Regions from separate parts of the Homo sapiens genome. Here region 2 is linked to region 1. The links are contacts of gene promoters, found by promoter capture Hi-C in blood cells and fetal thymus (Javierre and others, 2016). All regions are on one chromosome and are shown on one strand. The core of a region is centred on a gene start or on the middle of the fragment in contact, and the rest is flanking DNA. Distances in the headings are between cores, read along the strand shown. Region 1 holds the start of KCNAB1-AS2 (KCNAB1 antisense RNA 2). Region 2 overlaps KCNAB1 (potassium voltage-gated channel subfamily A regulatory beta subunit 1).

Evidence for each region. The method cuts DNA at HindIII sites, captures the fragments that hold promoters and counts their contacts. A CHiCAGO score of 5 or more calls a contact.
Region 2: a fragment that was not itself captured here is called in contact with the fragment with the promoter of KCNAB1-AS2 in region 1 in 1 of 17 cell types (endothelial precursors); the score reaches 5.5 in endothelial precursors.

What each region holds. Positions count from the first base shown.
Region 1 is chr3:156,225,756-156,229,598 of GRCh38, forward strand. KCNAB1-AS2 (KCNAB1 antisense RNA 2) reads right to left here and starts at 2,128. Exons shown (of 4, transcript NR_046617.1): 1 at 1,934-2,128. All of the region lies in intron 1 of KCNAB1 (potassium voltage-gated channel subfamily A regulatory beta subunit 1), which reads left to right. The HindIII fragment of the contact is 1,557 bases long and covers 978-2,534 here.
Region 2 is chr3:156,509,050-156,512,892 of GRCh38, forward strand. The region is part of intron 8 of KCNAB1 (potassium voltage-gated channel subfamily A regulatory beta subunit 1); the gene reads left to right. Among named protein-coding and RNA genes, the nearest start is that of SSR3, 44 kb to the right of the region's middle. The HindIII fragment of the contact is 2,122 bases long and covers 1,086-3,207 here.

The DNA.
Region 1 (3,843 bases), core at 878-3,377:
TAGCTCTGCTGTATACCAACAGCGACCAAGCTGAGAATCAAATCAAGAACTCAACTCCTTTCACGATAGCTGCAAAAAATAATAATAATAAAATACATAGGAATATACCTAACCAAGGACTTGAAAGACGTCTACAAGGAAAATTACAAAACACTGCTGAAAGAAAACATAGATGACATACAAATGGAAACACATCCCATGCTCATGGATTCAATATTGTGAAAATGACCATACTGCCAAAAGCAATCTATAAATTCATTGCAATTCCCATCAAAACACCACCATCATTTCTCATAGAACTAGAAAAAAATCCTAAAATTCATATGGAACCAAAAAAGAGCCCACAGAGCCAAAGCAAGACTAAGCAAAAGGAACAAAACTAGAGGCATCACATTACCTGACTTCAAACTATACTGTAAGGCCACAGTCACCAAAACAGCATTATACTGGTATAAAAATTGGCACATAGACCAGTGGAACAGAATAGAGAACCCAGAAATTAAGCCAGATACAGTCAACTGATCTTGACAAAGCAAATAAAAACATAAAGTGGAGAAAGGATACCCTACTCAACAAACGGTGCTGGGATAATTGGCTAGCTACATGTAGAAGAATGAAACTAGATATCTATCTCTCACCTCATACAAAAATCAACTCAAGATGGATCAAAGACTTAAATTTAAGATCTGAAACCATAAAAATTCTAGAAGATAACATCAAAAAACCCTTCTAGACATTGGCTTAGACAAGACGTCATGACCAAGAACCCAAAAGCAAATGCACCAAAAACAAAGAGAAATAGATGGGACTTAATTAAACTAAAAAGCTCCTGCACAGCAAAAGAAATAATCAGCAGGGTTAACAGACAAAAATCTCAGAAATCACCGCTAAAGAACTTATTCATGTAACCAAGTACCACCTGTTCCCCAAAAACCTATTGAAATCAAGAAAAAGAAAAAAGAAAAGCTCATCTGCAAAGCTTGTGAACAACTTTCCATGTTTTGGCGGGGATCCTTTTATTCCAGTTTCAGGAAACACCCCACAGCCAAGCCCAGCACTCCTCCTCTCTCTTATGTAAGCGATAAGCACCATTAATAGTCCTGTCAGTCTTGATTAATTCTGTGTACAATGATCAAGAGAGTATTTTGACTTTGGGGCAAATCAAACCATGGTGGACTATGACACAGACATAAGGGATAAACATTTACTAAAAGTAAAAAACACACAGCCTGGAGCTTGTAAGGATTCCATAGAAATAAAAGCATATGAAGAATGAATTCCAACTATAGATTTTTTACAAAGCTACATGATGATTAAGTGCTTTTGGGTTATTCTATTCTATAATATTTAATGGTTTCTAAATCTAACTACTTCTTCGTCACAATGTTGTTTTTAAAAAGTTATCCATTAGGTCTTTGTGTGAACAAATGTAGGCCATTACTCCACTGATCAGTAACTAATGCAAGGAAAAAGTTCTTTTTTATACTTTTACAACGTGAACTCCTTTTGATAGTACTGAAACGACTGGCCATTTGCAAGAATGAAACTAATTTAAAAAGCAAAGACAAAGGACATTGTTCTCAAAGGTATTTAATAGGCCCTGAAAGTTTGACTTAGAAAAAAAAGTGTTTGAAATCACAATCAATGTTGCAATAAAGTGGGACGATTCCAAGCAGCTAAAAAAGACTTTCTCTCCGATTTCAGTGAGAATTGTCTTTTCTCATGATAGTCTGAATCTAGTGTGTGTGTACTATTTTTATATGCAAATTAGTATACGATTCTCTTGTTTGATTCAACAATAGGTGATGTAGGTAAGTCGACATTATTATATTTCAAGAAAGAAGGCAAATGAGACCCAGAGAAGTTAGGAAATTTGTTCCTGGTCATGCAGTTAGTAAACAGGGATGCTTAAACCTAAACCCCAGTCACTCACCAAATGATTCTCCTCTTCATGTAACAGGCTCAAGGCCCCCACTAGCAGGCACAGTGGTAAGTTCTCACCCTAAACTCCGGAAACGCCCTTTTAGGGCACCATCCCGGTTCAGAGCTGTTTAGGCAAACTGTGCTTAAGGAGGGACCTCCTCGTACACAGCTGTTCTGCTTAGACATGGATTTTCCTCCTCCAGCCCTTTCTGCCATGTCATCAATACAAGGTCAGAAAGAGACACTGAGTCAGCAATGAATATGGGAATTATCTGCACATTTAGCAGTGGAATCCTAGAGGCACGGGAAGAGAGAGCAGGTAAGTGGTAGGATCCAGTTTTAAACTTACCTTCTTGTTGCATACATTGAAAGTAAACATCAGAAACGTCTTCCACCTTAAAATTTTGCACAATAATTTATTGTACCAAATTGGTTCAATTCCATTCCTCTGTTCATTCATTCCATTCCACACATCTTTATTGAGCACCTCCCCTTGGCAGTAACTGTGTCGGTGGGAAGTCAGATGCTGTCCTTGCCCTCAGATAGTGCACAGTCTTCAGATGAAGGGGAGAGGAGAAAAGAAGCAAGTGCTGGTTAGGAGGTGGGATGAAAGCTTAGATTTTGTGATTCACAAAAAGCCATACACTTCTTGTCTGCAGCCCTACCGTGTGCTTTGAACATAGGAGCAGCAGTTGATGGTTTTGCCTCCATTTGACTGTTACAGATCCCAGCCCCTGTGTTGTTTCCTCAAGCATTTCTGGAAGTCCCTGAAATGCATCTCATGTGTGGTCGAAAGCAAGCCTGGTCAGCCTTCACACAGCGTCTGCTGTTTCTTCCTTCTCACTAGCCTGCCTCTTCGGGGTTCTATCATGTTCCACTAGAGACCGCTGCAGGTGTGCTAGAGCTTGGAGGTGGGAAGTGGGGAGGGCACCTCTCCTTCTCATGTTGCCTTCCACTGAAAGGCTCCAAAGGTTTACAGAGTCTTAAGTGAAATAGCTTGTTCAGGTTGAGTTCCAGGCTTTTCTTACCCTTGACCTAGGTTGGAGTCAATGGGGGATAGATCAGAGAAAAACCTCAGTGACAGCCACTATGTGATTCTCAGGATTGCTCTCCTCTTCTGACCACCCTATTTCTCCTTCCACAGACAGTTTTCTGTCTATGGCCACATGGCCCTTTGTAGGCTGGTTATTTCCCACTGTCAAGATTCTGGGCAAGCCCGCCTCTGAGTTCCATGGCATACCTGAACCCCAGCGGAGACTAGGGTTTACACAGAGAGAAGGTGTTGTTCTAGTGTGGAGTTTGGGGAGAGGGCACTAGACATACCCCAGAGGCATCATTCCCCTCTTCCTTGTGTGTAAAGGGGAGCCTCTGAGGGGTCTCAGCCCTGAACACAGTCTTTTTGAGGGAGAGGTTTGAAACTCTGTTTTAAAAAGAACAAGACTATTTTTCTTTCTATGGTGTATTAGTTCATTCTCACACTACTATAAAGAAATACCTGAGACTGAGTAATTTGTAAAGAAAAGAGGTTTAATTGGCTCGTGGTTCTGCAGGCTGTACAGGAAGCATGGCTGGGGAGGCCTTGGGAAACTTATAATTATGGTGGAAGGCACAGCTTACATGGCCAGAGCAGGAGGAAGAGAGTGGGGAGAGGTGCTACACACCTCACAGATCTGTGAGAATTCACTTATAGTCAAGAGACCAGCAAAGGAGAATCTGTCCCCTTGATCCAATATCCTCCCACCAGGCCCCTCCTCCAACCTTGGGGATTATTACAATTCGACATGAGATTTGGGCAGGGACACAAATTTAAACCATATTATGTGGTTACAGATAAAAGATGGAACACAATTATGTTGGATGCATTAGTGGAAAGGACAACACTTATTCATCCTGAAGTGTAATCAATGGAGGAGTAAGATG
Region 2 (3,843 bases), core at 897-3,396, 280 kb after region 1:
TTCTGATTCATGGTGGTGGAGTGGGGCGGAGGGGAAAGAGGGAGAGGAAGAGAGAGAGAGAGTAGATATCATACTAGCTATCTGTTTGCTTATGTACTAAGGCAAATAACTAAAGATTATAGCATGAAGCACTTGGGTTAGATAAAAAAGCAAAAGAGGAAATATAGGAAGACGTTTGTATCCATTGAAATGGCTTACTTGGGAATAGTATAAAGCAGTGTGTGTCAGCATTACTTGAAAGGCTGCTTAAAACACATATGCAGACTTTGTAATTTACTAAGTCTGGGGTGAGGCCCTGGGATTTGCATTTGTAACAAGTTTCCAGGTGCTGCTGCTGCTGCTGCTGCTGCTGCTGCTGGTCCAGGAGCTACACCCTGAGACCATTGGTGTAGACAAGCACGTTGGTTCTAAATCCTGGCTGCACACTAGAATCATCATCTGGGATGAGTTTTTAAATTATTATCGATGCTGGGGCCTCACCCCCAAGAGATTCTAATATAATAGAATTTCAGTGGAGCCTGGGCCTGGATAGTTTGTAAAGCCCCCACTCCAGGTGTTTCTAATATGTAGTCGGAGTTGAGAACCACTGGGATTAAGGCTTCTGGAAAACTAGGGAAGGAGCCCAGACCAGGAGAGTCACATTCAGTACTGGGTTATCAGGTTTAATCACATTTGTCTGAGTCTCCTTTCCCAGAGGCAGGTGATGCAGTGCACTAAACTATCTTTCTAACATCCTTTCCTCACTCAGAATTGTTATTCTGCCTAGGAGGCTTTTAAAAGGCATCTCCATGTTATGCACTTAACAGTATCTAGAAGACAGTTGATTTTTCCTTTCAGCAATGCTGCCCTCTAGTGTTCTTAATTATTCAAATCATGTAAAAACCCACCTTGGCCATCAGTATGGTTGTTTCCTATTAGTAAGCTAAACGAATTTTTCTCTGAAATAGAATTAAATTTTAATTCATGGCAACATGAATCTCCAAAACTGCAGCCTCTTGGTTCTCCTGCAATTTCTCCCTGCTTTTGATGTTGCAGCCTCCTTCCAGGACAAGAACTCACAGAGTTCCCTTTTCCCAATTCCACCAAGCTTTTCTCTTCAGAGTCAAAACTAAACAATGAGGAAAAAACTACCAGCAACAAAAAGACCTGAGGCATTGGAGTGCCTCGCAGAGGCTCTCCTCACCTTTTTCTCATTTCTGCTACACATCTCATGCCTCCTTTTACACTTGGTTCACAGTTTATTGAGACTAGAATTCATCAAACAGGTGCTGCCATGTCTTCCCATGATGGTTCTACAAACCTCCCTGGGTCCCATCATCTTGACAAAAGTGTCCTTCTTACCTCTAGGGGCTCTGTCCCTCCTCCCTCTCCCTTTATCAAGTCTCTCTCCCTCTTCCTTCCCAGCCCCGAGGCCATTTCATCAATAACTCCCTCTTCCTAGGTCACTCCAAATGGCACACAGGCTTACTCTTAATGTCCCGTGACCCTGAATATCCCTTCAGCTCCTGTCCTATTTCTCTTCCAAACTTATTGAATGCATTGTGTTTAAGGCCTCTCCTTCTTCCACTCATTCTTCCATTGAGTGGCTTCCAATGGCTCCAACCTTGCTTGATCCCATCACATCACTGACACTGAAGCTGCTTTTCTCATGGTCTGCAGTGGTCTCCCTACATATGGCCAAATCCAGTGGACACTGTTTGGGGCTGTTCTGACACAAATGTCCATGGCGTTCCACCCTGTGGGCATGGCTCCCTCTTGAAGTGCCCTCTGCTCTTGGTCTGACACATCCCTGTGTGCCGGCTTCCCTCCTGCCCCTTTGGCTGCCGGCTACCCAGCATCCTGCATGGGTCCTCTCTCTAACCCCTGGGCTGGCCATCAGAAACTCTTCTCTTTTCTGTCTATAGACTTTCCTTACAAGGCTCATCCATTTTCATGAATTTAAATATAATCAATAGACTGGTAACTAATAAATGTATATACACCTCTGGCCCAGATTGCTCACTGTCGTATTTATCCAACTATTAAATATCCACTTGACATCTCCCCTTTATTTTTTATTTTTTATTTTTTTTGAGACGGAGTCTTGCTCTGTCCCCCATGCTGGAGTGCAGTGGCGTGATCTCGGCTTACTGCGAGCTCCACCTCCCAGGTTCATGCCATTCTCTTGCCTCAGCCTCCCGAGTAGCTGGGACTACAGGCACCCGCCACCACGCCCGGCTAATTTTCTGTATTTTTAGTAGAGACGGGGTTTCACCGTGTTAGCCAGGATGGTCTCGATCTCCTGACCTCGTGATCCACCCGCCTCGGCCTCCCAAAGTGCTGGGATTACAGGTGTGAGCCACCGTGCCCCGCCCGTCATCTCCCTTTTAGTATCTCACATGCATCTCCATTTTTCACATGTCCAAAGAAGAACCCTCGATTTTTCTCCCAAACCTGTTCTTCCTTCAGTCTCCCTTATCTCTGTAAACAGCCAGATATCTGGGAAACAGCTTTAATTCCTCCCTTTCCCTGACCACACTCAGTCCATCTGTAAGTATTGTGGATTCTGCCTTCAACATCTATTTTGAATCCATCCACCACTCTCTCTGTTTGCCATCATCACCCTATTACAAATCACCCTCATCTCCTGCCTAGAATACAACAATACCTTCCTCAAGCTCTTTCTACTTCCTCCAGTCCTCCCTGTTACTAATGATTCTCCACAGCACAGAGACTGTTCTGAAATGCAAACTATATTCTACCATCCCCTTACCTGATAAAATGTTAATGCCTTGATTAAACCTTGAATAACATACAAATGACATGGTTTGCCCTCTGCCAACTTCATCTCATACCCCTGTCCTCCTTCCCTCCCATTGCTGGGACTCACTAAGCTCTGTCCTTCCTCAGGGCCTAGGCGCATACTACATCATCTGCCTCGAATGCTCTTCCACTGTTCTTCACAAGGATGGTTCCTTTTTTCTTTTTTATGCCTAAACATGATTGCTCTTCAGTGAGACCTTCCTTACTGCACTAAATATGTCTTCTCTTTCATTTCCTGTCCCAGTCCCCTGTGTTATTTTCTTTATAACACTTTACATTTTATAATGACTTACTTGTTTACCCCTCCATCTCTCACTCAACTTGAAACTCCCTGAGTCCAGGAAATTTGTGTCTGTTTTACTCACAGAAGAATCCAGCAACCAGCACAGTGACTGGCAAACATTAAGCTTTTAATACTTGTGTGTTGTATAATTAAATGCATGTGCAGGAAGAGTCACAACTTCCACTCCATCTTCACTGCTTTTGTCAAGGACTCCCACGTGCCCAAGCCACCTGTCAGCATTCTGTGCCTGTCTTACTTGATGGCAGAGACAGAGTTAAGGGAGAGGCCAGGTCCAGTTTATTCTCTGTTAACCTCTTCTGTGTTTATCAGCATGTTTGATTCACCACAGTATCTCCAGCACCCAGAACAGCAGACACCTAGTAGATACTGTTGATTGGCTGAACTCCCAGCTCTGAATGACACAGGATGTGAAGGGAAAGGGAGCTGGTGCAGTGATGGAGACATCTAAAGACAGAATCTATCTGGGGCAGAGATTCATATCATTGTTTTCAACTTCTGGAACTGTTTATCATAGGCACGCATCTCCATTTGTATAATGAAAGAGAAGAAAAGCGGTTCCTTACACTTTTTTAATCATATGTTTTATAAATGGAGAATGAACTTCATAGTTTTAGTTGCTAGGCAATAATTTGATATTCTAGAGTCTTTCTCCAAGAAAAAGAAAACTATTTTGCTTATAAGCCAGCTTTTACCTCTGTTGGACACACAATGGTGAATGAAAGCATTTCCATCTTCCA